4 separate regions of the Homo sapiens genome follow, and regions 1, 3 and 4 are each linked to region 2. The links are contacts of gene promoters, found by promoter capture Hi-C in blood cells and fetal thymus (Javierre and others, 2016). All regions are on one chromosome and are shown on one strand. The core of a region is centred on a gene start or on the middle of the fragment in contact, and the rest is flanking DNA. Distances in the headings are between cores, read along the strand shown.

What was found. The method cuts DNA at HindIII sites, captures the fragments that hold promoters and counts their contacts. A CHiCAGO score of 5 or more calls a contact.
Region 1: a contact is called between a fragment that was not itself captured here and the fragment with the promoter of PSRC1 in region 2, in 2 of 17 cell types (total B cells and erythroblasts). The highest score is 5.5, in total B cells.
Region 3: a contact is called between a fragment that was not itself captured here and the fragment with the promoter of PSRC1 in region 2, in 1 of 17 cell types (fetal thymus). The highest score is 5.5, in fetal thymus.
Region 4: a fragment that was not itself captured here is called in contact with the fragment with the promoter of PSRC1 in region 2 in 1 of 17 cell types (total CD4 T cells); the score reaches 5.2 in total CD4 T cells.

Annotation. Positions count from the first base shown.
Region 1 is chr1:109,467,370-109,470,326 of GRCh38, forward strand. The region is part of intron 2 of SYPL2 (synaptophysin like 2); the gene reads left to right. Among named protein-coding and RNA genes, the nearest start is that of SYPL2, 2.3 kb to the left of the region's middle. The HindIII fragment of the contact is 489 bases long and covers 1,383-1,871 here.
Region 2 is chr1:109,281,895-109,284,961 of GRCh38, forward strand. PSRC1 (proline and serine rich coiled-coil 1) reads right to left here and starts at 1,251. Exons shown (of 8, transcript NM_001032291.3): 1 at 1,169-1,251; 2 at 786-842; 3 at 624-681; 4 at 1-166. The coding sequence starts at 804. RefSeq lists enhancers at 1,620-2,345, 1,713-1,762. The HindIII fragment of the contact is 13,254 bases long and covers 1-3,067 here.
Region 3 is chr1:109,504,097-109,506,990 of GRCh38, forward strand. AMIGO1 (adhesion molecule with Ig like domain 1) reads right to left here. Exons shown (of 2, transcript NM_020703.4): 2 at 82-2,894. Among named protein-coding and RNA genes, the nearest start is that of AMIGO1, 4.2 kb to the right of the region's middle. The HindIII fragment of the contact is 358 bases long and covers 1,230-1,587 here.
Region 4 is chr1:109,485,123-109,488,068 of GRCh38, forward strand. ATXN7L2 (ataxin 7 like 2) reads left to right here. Exons shown (of 11, transcript NM_001350175.2): 2 at 935-1,000; 3 at 1,384-1,488; 4 at 1,885-2,095; 5 at 2,396-2,682. Among named protein-coding and RNA genes, the nearest start is that of ATXN7L2, 2.7 kb to the left of the region's middle. The HindIII fragment of the contact is 440 bases long and covers 1,469-1,908 here.

The DNA.
Region 1 (2,957 bases), core at 377-2,876, 190 kb after region 2:
GGAGCCTTTGCCCAGGGCGCTCACATTTCACCCGGGCGAGAGGACCCGGGTGTAACCTTTCCAGAACTCTGATCCTGCACATACCACTCCTTGGTGACGGGAGGGGGGAGAAGGACGACGGGGACGAGGTCCGCTCTTCACCAAGAGGGAAGCCGCAGAGGGCAAAGGAGGGAAGGAAGCAGGCGATGGAAACCGTCCTGCCCCCAAACCCACCAGGGCCTGGATGATCCTGCAAGTACTGGGCTCAGGGGACAGGCTCTCGGCTCGCCGTTCCCTTTTGAGGTCACTGGAGTAATCCGAGTTCCTGTAAATGAGTGAGGGAGTGGATGAATGAATGAACGGAGCTTGTGGTTCTATGATTAAATAAAAGAAAAAAATAAGAATAAAAATCACGGCATGGCTAAAATGTGGCATGTAGAATAAAATGGAACACTGATCTGAGAAGCTGGGGCCCTGGGATCCAGACCTAGACTGGCCTTTTCCAGCTATGTCACCTTGGGCAATTCATTTCTCTGGACTTCAATTTCCAACACTAGTTAGATGTTGATCAGAACCTTCCTAGGGTCTCCTTATGCTCTAAATAGTTTGGTGTGCCAGAATATGGCCCTAGGTTAGACTTACTTTGTGACCTTGAAAAAGTCACTTGCTCAGGTCCTCAGTTTCCCCTGTTACAGTCTAGTGGAAATACTATCTTGCTTCACTAGGCCAGTGCCTAAGGCCTCCTGGGTATAAATTAGGAATGTGGACAGGTGCAGTCAATTTCTCAAATCATAAAGACTTGTAGGGGGCATTTAGTGCACTATTGCAGAAGAGATTTTAAATTAGACAATCCACATACCAAATGGTGTGTGAATAACTTAATTAATGTGCTCTCAGTACAGAATTCAGCTAGGGAATAAGTTACCATTAATACTGAGGAGGATTGAGTTCTACAGGGCTTTGGAGACAAGAATTAGCACTGTGACACCAGTTCTTAAATCATGGTTTGGATGAGAATAATCAAATCTGGAACCCAGGGGCAAAAGTGCATTTGGGATTATCGGGCCAGCCTGGGAGCTCCCAAGTGCAAACTCTGGGACCTGGTGGGGACTCTCCACCTTTCTTACTGCCTCAAGAGTGGTTAGACCAATTGCTGATTGAGCTCTTTTGCCTTTGGCCCCTTCCCTGTTCTGATCCACCACTCAAGTGCCAGAGGGAGCCATATAAAAATGATATTAAGGCTCTGAGTGACTGGCATCCAGAACTGGAAGAGCCATTATAAGCAATTTTACCATTAAATTAGACAAATGGATCCAACAGAATTTGAGACAGACTGTCAAAGGATAAGGGAAACAATGAGGTTATTAGACCATGGACTCCTCTCCCTTGGAGGGATTCTGAAAAGCTTCCTTCTTCAATCCTGCCATCCTTCCCTCCACGCAGCACTCCAAATACCCACAACATTTCTGTAAAGGCTGTACAAAGCAATGCCCAGGGAAATGATGCAGTCTTGGGGTCAGCACTAATGACCTAGGAATTAAGATCTGATAGACTTTTATGATCTTCAAGTACTTAGAAAGGGGGTTGTGCAAAACAGAGACCCTTTTCTCTCAGAATGCTAAAACCTGGGCCCTGGGCTAGACTCTGAATTCAGATTTCATTCACAGGGTAGCATCACAAAGAAACGTGCTTTGCTTTTATTGCCATCCCAGGTAGCCTGAATTCAGGGCGCCAGTTTCACTTGCTTTGAAGCTCTGCAGATGAGGTAACATAAAAAGTAAACAGGCATTAGCACCAGAAATGACAGTGGAAATGTCATTTGAGTTTTTCACTCATTTCCTGTTTGGAGGGATCAAATGCTCCTGATTGGAGAAGGAAAAAAGAAAACACAAAGCTTGCAGTTATTGTAATGGTAATTGAGAACTTTTGTTGTCATTATTACCAAAAAGCAAAGATTTTACTGGAATCTTTGTGAAAAGAAAGTAATGTTATTCTTTTATTTGTCAGGAGCTTATCTTAGAGTTTTTTTTTTTTTAATTGAGAAATCAACTAATCTCACCTCAATTCCAATTCTGGAGTCTCACTAAGTCTATACTAAGCTAGCAAAAATAACCTGGACATAGACCAATTATTGGAGAACTAGTTTTTTTTTAAAAAAGAAAAGGACATCAAATCATAGGAGTTCAAGATAAAAAAGAAAAGAAAAGAAGTATCTTAAAAAAAATTTTCTTTTTAAGAAAAAGACACACTTTGGGAGGCTGAGGTGGGAGGATTGCTTGAGCCCAGGAGTTTGACACAAGCCTGGGCAATAAGGGGAGGTCGCGTCTCTATTAAAAAATAAAATTAGTTGGGTGTGATGACACATGCTTGTGGTCCCAGCTCCTTGGGAGGCTGAGGCTGGAGGATCATTGAGCCCAGGAGGTCGAGGCTGCAATGAGCTGCGCACTCCAGCCTGAGTGACAGAACTAGACCTTGTCTCAAAAAAAAAAAAAAAAAAAAAAAAAGGAAAATAAAACAAAAGAAAAAGGAAGATAGAGACAGATTTTTGAGGTCAGATAGGCTTCGGTTTAAATTGAGTCCCCTCTGCTTTCTTGCTTTCTAGCTCTGGAACCTTGAGTGAGTAAATATCAAATCTTTTTTTTTTTTCAGACAGGCTCTAAGATAGAGACTGGCTCTATCGCTGAGGCTGGAGTGCAGTGGTACGAACACATCTCACTGCAGCCTAAATTTCCAAGCTCAGGCAATCCTCCCACCTCAGCCTTTCAAGTATCTGGGACCAAAGGCACATGCCACCATGCCTAGCTAAGTTGTAAAAAATTTTTGTAAAAATCGGGTCTTGCTATGCTGCCCCAGCTGGCTTTGAGTTCCTGGGCTCAGGTGATATTCCCACCTCAGCCTCCAAAAGTGCTGAGATTACAGGCATGAGCCTGTTACCTCGCCTAAACAAAACAAAAAACAATGAGATAAGCGTGGGAGTA
Region 2 (3,067 bases), core at 1-2,500:
GGCCTCATCGAGGATCTCCTCCAGCTTCTCTGGACTGAGGGGGCCTAGGCTGAGCCTCACACCCTGGGGGGCAGGTGCCACTGCATTTGGGTCACTTCGGTGGGAGAGGCCCCGTCGAAGTGGTTTCTCTGGAGTCACCAACACTGTTATGTCTTCCTCCTCACGGCTGAGACAGGAAACAAACCAGGCATCATGCCCATGCAAAAGGGAACAGGAGATTATGCAAGGGAGACTGCATAAAAGCCCCACAACAGAGCCAGGGACATGACCCTAGGCCCCGATGCCCATGCTGGCTGTGAGATGTGGCCTCTGGGCGATGAGATACCTGGTTCTATGGGGCCTAATAGGCCTTTAGCATTTACGGACATCAGAAATGATGCCAGGATGGAGATGCAGCAAATCCACTTATCCTTCTTCTTAACACCCTGAAATCTAACTCCAGCTTCTCCCTTCTCTCCCCGCTACCAATAGTGTCATAGAGGCCCGAGTCAGCCAGCCGCCCAGCAGCCCCAAGTGCGCCAAACCTTGCTAAGTTACCAACCCAAGCCAATAATTCAGCAGTAAGGGATTCGAGACAAAGAGGTACTGTTAGAGGAAAATAAGTGGGATAAAGAGGCTGGTACCTGTCAGATGGTGACAGCCCCCCAAAGTCCAAGGTCTCATCCACAATAAACCTTACATCTGAAGGGGAAAGAAGAATGAAAGCCAGTCATGGGTCCCTGATGCAGCTCTCCATCGCTGGGTCTCACTCCTCCCTTTCATTCTTCCCTCCCTCCTTTCCTTACCTTCCTCCAAATCCTCCATGTCCAGCCAGCAGGAGCGAGAGTCCAGTTAGATCTGAGCTGGAGAGAAACCATACCTTTCCTCAGGTATCCATTCTGCCCAAGGCTCGCAGCTAGATTCAGGGTGCAAGCCAGGGTCGGGGGTCATGCTGGAGGCAAAGCAAGCGCCCAGGAGTGGCACCTCCCGCACAGCTACTCCTGCTACCTCCGGGAACGATACGGAGGGCTCCCCCAACTGCCCAGATTGCCCTGGAGCCGCCCTGCATCCTGGCCTCTCCTCACTGGGGGCGGCCTGCACGCCCCATCTTCCTCCCCGCCACTATCCTCAGGGTTCTGCACTCCCCAAGCCACCTTTCCACTCCCCTGGCATCACACGCGAAGCACACCTCCAGCCCACCCTGTGTCCACTTCCCGCGCCGCCTTATCTTCCACGCAACAGGCTTTCTCCCGCAACCTAGTCCCGGGAATCAGCTCCGAGGGGGCGGGGCTCCTTTCGAATCTCTCAGGCCCCACCTACTCAAGCCACACGCGCACCGTGATTGGTGAATCCTCAGGGGGAGGGGCTGAGGAGCTGCCGGCCGGAAGTCAGCCGGTGGGGGCTGGGGGAGAACCGTTCCCAGAAGACTGCATCCCGGTGGCGGAGCCGAGGGTTGAGGCTGCGAGTGCGCGTGCTCGCGTGCGCGGAGACTCTCTTTCCCGTAGGCAGATGGGAGCAGAGCGCGGCTGGCCAGGAGGGAAGAAACGGACCCACGAGTATGGAACTCGCGCCCCGCCCCGCTCCCTCTGCTGGGCCGCCGAGCACCCAGTCTCCAGAACGGTTGTGCTGCCTAACGTGGCCGCTAACCGACGCTCTACGGGAGGAAATTCGTTTTCTTGGGCGCACTCAATATGCAGGCGCCGCATTGGCCGAGGTTCCTCAGTTGTGGGTTTTTTCCAAGTTAAGGGAGCACCTAAACACTTATATTGTAGGTATATTGAGGTTCTCTTAGAAGTACATCCTCCATCGCCTCTTCAAGAACCTGAGGCAGCTGAGGTGCAAAGAAAGCAACGGGCTTTTCACGCAGGCAGGCTTAGGTTCAAATGCAACCCAAGTTTAACTGACCTCAGAACCCAAGTTTCGGTTTAGAGGCGGCTGCCTTGAGTATATTTGCCCTCTTTTCACCTCTCTTCGCTTATCTGTGAAAGGAGGATGTTGGTCCTCGCAGTTACGGTGTTACGAGGATAATTATGAAGGCGTTTTCTACCGTGTGCCCTTAGGGGATTTAGAGGGGGTGTTTGTAAGTAGCCCCCTCTGAACTAAAAGCAGTATTTGTAAAATGCTTAAACCAACTTGTTAGGAGTGTTGTCTCTGTTGTTTCTAAATGTTGCCCGGGCCACCAGTGAACTTGTCAGAGGCTTCAAACCAGAACGACTCCATCTGGAATAGAGGCTGGGTAAAATAAGGTTGAGACCTGGGCTGTATTCCTAGGAGGTTAGGCATTCTAAGTCACAGGATGAGATAGGAGGTTGGCACAAGATACAGGTCACAAAGACCCTGGTGGTAAAACAGCATGCGGTAAAGAAGCCAGCCAAAACCTACCGAAACCAAGATGGCGATGAAACTGACCTCTGGAGGTCCTCAGTCCTCATTATACGCTAATTATAATGTATTAGCATGCTAAAAGACACTCCAGACAGCATCACCACGGTTTACAAATACCATGGCAACATCAGGAAATTACCCTACATGGTCTAAAAAGGGGAGGAATTCTTAGTTCCAGGGAGTTGCCTACCCCTTTCCCGGAAAACTCATGAATAATTCATCCCTTGTTTAGCATATAATCAAGAAATAACCATAAAAATGGCCAACCAGCAGCCCTCCGGGCTGCTCTGCCTCTGGAGTAGGCATTCTTTATCCCTTTTCTTTCTTAATAAACTTGCTTTCACTTTATGGACTTGCCCTGAATTATTTCCTATGCAAGGGCCAAGAACCCTCTCTTGGGGTCTGGATCCGGACCCCTTTCTGGTAACAACAGGAGGAGACAGCAGGTCCGCACAAGATACAGATCTCAAACATCCCTCTAATAAAACGGTGCAGTAAAGAAGCCGGCCAAATCTGCCAGAAACCAAGATGGTAAAGAAAGTAGGCCAGGCGCGGTGGCTCACGCCTGTAGTCCCAGCACTTTGGGAGGCCGAGGCGGGCGAATCACGAGGTCAGGAGATCCAGACCATCCTGGCTAACACGGTGAAACCCCGTCTGTACTAAAAATACAAAAAATTAGCCGGGCGTGGTGGCGGGCCCCTGT
Region 3 (2,894 bases), core at 159-2,658, 220 kb after region 2:
ATTTTCTTCCTAGATAGGACACACCCTTCTGAGGTACAGTGAACCCCACCCACAGGCTGAAAAAATAAACCAGTCAGATTGTGCCAGAACAGAGACTCAAGCCAGGTTTAATGATCATTGTCTAGTTTTCAGAGCCCAGAGGCTCCAAGATTTGCCAGCCTAGGTGTACACAAGTGGGAGGAATGGGGTCTTGGACACGGGAGGCCTGCTTGCTTTGTCAGCAGAGCTACGAGGAAGTACAGAGGTAAGAACACACAGAAAACTGGATCCATCTGCTTTGCTCTCCCCAGCTGGGGTGTACCCTCTCCTGGCCCCTTTCTTGGGCCCCATAAATACAAAATAATAATAATAATAATAATTACACAGATTGTAGAGCCCTGTCATCCTCTGTCTCCAGGGACACCTGCTTCCTGGGAGACATGTCTGGTTTATGGGTGTGGGGTAGGGTAAGAGGAGGTGGTGATCTCTCGGCCTTTTCTTATACCCACACCTGGCAGTTTTCAACACAGGGTTCTAGTGCGCTTACATATGCTGATTATTCAATTCTCCAATTAAAAAGCTACCTTTGGGTTCTATCACCTGAAACCACGGGAAGAAACAAATCAAATCTCTTGGTAGGGCAGCCAGGTACATCTACCAGGTGTCTCAAACTCAAGGCCAAACTAGTGGATATAGTCAGGAGACTTAAGAGCCACAGGGCCTTTTCTCATTCCCTAAACTGGGTAGGAATTATGAAGAAAACGGCCCTCCCAGTCCTCAGGAGCTCCATCACGATGCCCCAGAAGGCCTGCTTCATTTAACGCTCACTTTAAAGATCTTCAGAGCCCTAGATGGTGCCAAGCGGGGAGACTGCAGCATGGAGATGAGATTTTCCCAGATTTCCTGATGAGTCTGAGGAGGGAGTCCTAGTTCCTATAGCTCCAGTAACAAAATTCTCAGGAGTCTCTGGAATAAATCAAGACAACTTTTCTCTCCTGAGGACAGTTAACAGGAAGAGCAGCTCACAGCTACTTAGCCCCTTGCCAGTTTCCTTCTGAGTCCTTCAATGACCTAGTTCTATCTTAATTGCTCATATATTGCTCATATATATAGTCTTCACGGGAGGTTTCTGAGGAGTCCAAAGAACCAGGTAGCTCCTTACCACCTCTTCTCCCAAGGCCTTCAACCCATGGTTCTTCTAACTCCAGCCTGGGCAGAAAAGTGATTCAGTGCCATGGAGATGTGGGTGAAGCTTCAGGGAGTTCAGAAATGAAAATACAGGAGTGTGTATTTGAAGAGCCTGGCATGGTCACTGTCTCTCCTAAAGAGGAATACAATTGTGTGCATGAAGTTGTGCACATTGGTGGAGACCATTCTGAGAGTATCATTAATGGGGACTACAGATTCACTGTCCTGGTGGAAGTCAAGGTGCTGGTGTGCATGCATACCTATAAGCATGCATACCTATGAGCATGCAGGTACTTGAGGGAAATGCTGCACCTCTCTCTCAACAAAACTAGGTTACTAATAAAGGATGGACAGCAGTCTTGAGTTCCCAGGACCAGACAAGGGGAAGATGTTGAGTCCCCTTCCCCAATCATAATAGGAAGCTTAATAGTCAGGCCCTCCAAGCCCCTCACCCACAGGTAAATGACACCTCTTAGAATGTAAAAAGAGGTCAGAAATCTAGAGGATCTGGAGAACTTCCAATGGACTAGAAACGTGGGAGAGAAGAGACCCTAAGAAAAACCAACATCAGAGAACATTTTCACCTTCACCCTGCTCATCCCCCGCCAAAGCTCAGAGCAGCCACTCACAGGGCATGCAGTGTAGTCAAAGGGAAAGGTTAAAGGGATCGGTCATCTCCATACTCAAAGTATTCTGCAACCTTGGATGGAATGGAATGTTGAGCTCATTCTTCTTAAGTTCCTCTGGCCTCACAACCACAACTGCAAAGACCTCTCGATGGAGGAATGGGGTGGCAGAACTCCCCTTCTGAAAGTTTAGTACTACTGATTATCTCTGCTTCAGGATTGCCTGGAATCTGTGGAGAGGGCAGAACTTGAAGCTGCACTCCAAATTGCCATTCTGGGGTAGAGACCACCCAATTCCAACCCTTCTGATGTCAAAACCCCATGCTTTGACTTTGCAGCAGAGGTGGTATCTCTGAGAGGAGCAAGGCAACCTTGTCCACACAGAGGAGATATATACTGGATTTTCACTATCGCCAAGCCTACTCTAAGCCAGCTGGGGCCAGGCTTTCTTGGACTCCTCCCTTTACAGAGCAGCATATTAGGGAAAATTCAGAATCCCACCTGAGCTTGATAAGGAGACTGGATGAAGAGATGGCATACATTGAGAATCAGCTAGGTCCAGCTGGATGCTACATAATAGAGGCTGATTTACCTTCATCCTTCTATCGTGAAGTGGGCCCATGTACCACGTCTGTGGCAGGCATCCATAAAAGCTCTGCCTTCAGCAGCCCCCACTCTGGCCTGACACACAGATGCTGGGAATCAAATACTAACCAAGGGTTTCACCAACCAGGGAATTAGCCTATCTGGAATTCACCCCCCATCTACAAGTTTCGTGCTGGCACCTATGCTGTGACATGGACCCTTCAGTTCATGCTATAACCCTCTGTGCCATTGGTCCCAGGACAAGGCACAGATACCACATCCCACATTGCTGTTGTAACTAAAAGGCAGCAGGCCAGGCTCCTGCAAAGATCCATCCACCCAGGGCACATCAGGAAAAAGGAAGGCTTTAATGCAAAGTCTTACAACAGCTTTGGGGAATTGTTACCGATTGAGGTCTCAGCCTTTTCCTGACTCATTTTCCAAAGGTTTTCAACTTCCCCAGCTGTGAAGTTTGACTTGCTAAACAAAGAAGATACTACAGCTTTTCCCCAGTGT
Region 4 (2,946 bases), core at 439-2,938, 200 kb after region 2:
ATGCTGGGTGGGCAAAGATGGGGCCATTGTCAGGGTCTGGGTGCATTGAGAACCGGAAATGGAGTCAGACGGGTTTGGTGACTCAGAATTGATTTTTTTTTTCCCAAGGGACAGGGAGGGGGCGTAGAGGAGGGAGGGGGGAGGAGAGAGGTAGGGGGATGGGGAAAAAGCTGCTTTGCACAGCTAAGATGTTTTTGTCATTAACCCAGAAACTGAGGTACAAGGGCAACCCCTGCCCAAAGGCCCTCTAAGAAGGGGAGGGACTTGCATAGCTGACCAAGGAGACTTTGAAGATGCTCAAGGACCAAAGACAGCAGTTTCTCTGCTCTGTGACCATCCTATCAGTGCAGGACCTGAGAAGCTGGGTGTAACTTTGACAATGCTATGGTAACCCAGGTGGAGCAAAATTGAGTTCATGGGGGTGGGGACCTGGGAGAGTATCTATTTGGGATGCCACATAGTAGCAGAAAGGACCCATCGAGAAATCTCAAGAAGAGACTCAGGGACTTATAGAAACATTGGTTAAGGACGGTTTCCCCTTTAAATGGGGAAGCAGGCCCAGAAAAGAGATGATACTTACCCACAATCACCCAACTAGTTAGCAGTGGAACCCTAAACTGCACCTTGAAGTGAAGGGTCCCATAAGAAAGGTGGATGGATTCTTCTTAGTGGGGCCATCTTAGTCCAGATGCAGCAGGTGAAGGAAGATGGGCATTTGAGAATGGACCCACTGAAAGGTTCCCCAAGTGGTCCTAGCACCAGGAGCTTGTCACGGAGTGTGGGCTTCATACTGTTGAGCTGCAGGCCCTGCTTGGGGCTTCTGGAAAGGGGACAACCTCTGGGTTGTCTTCTGGGAAGAACAGTCTCTGGTAAGGAGAGGCTGGAGACTCTCTAAAACTGGCCCTGACCCTTCTGAGCTGTGTTTCTCCTCTAGGGGCTGAGCTGGAGGAGAGTAGCAAAAACACGAAGAAGTTGGATGCCATGACCCTCATTAAAGAAGGTGGGAGTCGACACACATTAGGGCTGGGACCCAGGGCAGACAGGACCACGCTCCACTTTTCCACCACACTACAGAAGGAGGTGGCTGCTTGAAGCAGCTGTCTGGGGACCCTCATTTTGATAGGTCCGAGTCGGCCGGTTGTTCTGGCTCCTGTGACCTGTCGTTGGAGATCATAATCATAGGTGATTGCCCACTCACCTGAAAGCGTATACCCTTTGGGACTGCTTAGATCGAACTCTGGAAGCTGGAAGCATTCAGCATGGAGCTTGTTATATCAGCGGGGAGGTGAAGTGCCTTCTGAGTGTGGGGTGGGAGTGCTCTCCGATCTTCCAGAGAAACCCTGGGATCTTCAGCCCCAGTGACATGGGCTTCTGTCATTGCAGACATGTCCATCTTCGGGCACTGCCCTGCCCATGATGACTTCTACTTGGTTGTGTGTAACCACTGCAGCCAAGTGGTGAAGCCTCAAGCTTTCCAGAAGCACTGCGGTGAGGGGAGCCCTAGGGAGGAGATAAAGGGACAGGGGAAGGTGGAGCATGGAACTCTGAGGACAGGGTCAGTTGGGAGGTCTCGTAGGGTAATGGAGGGTGGTGTTGAGGATAGGAAGGTTGTGGGGGTGGCTTCAGAGCATTGTGGGGAGTCGGGTTATTGTTTGAACAAAATTCTAGCATCCAGTGGAATTACGGGAGGAGTTAAGACATTCAGGAAGCTGGGTCTTGAATTTTGAGTCCTAAAGGCTCAGATTCAAATGGGAAGGAGGCATGTTTACAATCTAATTTATGGAAACTCAGATTCTCTCATGTGAGTCTATGGACATGGTTAGGTTGGGGAAGGAAGTGGTGATACCACTCACCTTGATTATTCTTTCCACCTCCTGGTGACAGAAAGAAGACATGGGCCCCTCAGCAAGCTTTATGGCCGGGCCCCACCCCCACCTCCAGCCCCTGCCAGCTCTCAGAAATGCCATGTAGTGAATGGGCAGGGCCCAGCTTGTAGGGCCCCAGGTTCCACGAAAACCTCCTCCAGGGAGAAGGGCCAGGGGTCCCGGAGCCGTGGCCACCAGCCTCCTGAGAAGACCCAGAAGGACAACCTCTGGTAAGGAGAGGCTGGAAACTTTCTAAGACTGGCCCTGACCCTGACCCATGGATGGGCTGACATCAATACAGACAGCCCTGGGTCAAGGCATACTCCTCACAGCAGGAGGCAGCCGTCCTGTCTGCAGCTTCCTTCCATATATTCCAGGGAAGATGGGGTCTCCTCTTCCCGTGTTTCACACCCCTGCTGGAGCCCACCCAAATTCCAGGGCTGGGAAAGAGATGGCTCTGGGCTAGAGTCCAGGCCCCAGGCCTCGCCTCCCCTCCCCTCCCTCAGCCAACCCCCTCTCTCTGTGTGTAGCCTTTTCGTGCCTGTGGTGAATCTGGAGAAGATGTCCAGTCTCCCGAAGCCTGATGGACATGGAATCAGGGTGGCCCCACCCTCTGCTTTTCTCAGCCAGCCAGGGGGCCTCACCAAGGACTCCCCTGGAAAACCTCCCATGGCTCCCCCTTCTAAAGAACCTCCTGGCAGAGAGAACATCGAGATCATCCCCAGTGAGGGGTCCAGTCACTGGGCTGAAGGCAGCCCTCCTGAAAAGGAGCCCAGTGGGACCAGGCTGCCCCCTAAAACCCACCGGAAGATGGCTCGTGAGTAGTTGTGGTCTTGGGGGTCCAGAATGTAGAGTGGGGACTCCTTTGGGCTGCTTTGTCCTTGGGCTGGATGAGGAGGAGGTCAGGTTTATGGGCCTGGCCATCACAGGTTGTAGGGTATAGGAGCCCCGTCACCTCTTGACCTGCTTGCTTCCTGGGAAGCTTCTCTCCATCCTGTGTCTCCTGATCAAGGCTGAGGGAGCCCATGCCCAGGAGGTGAAGTTCTTTCTCACTCTTTTCTCACCTAGATCCAGGGCGCCA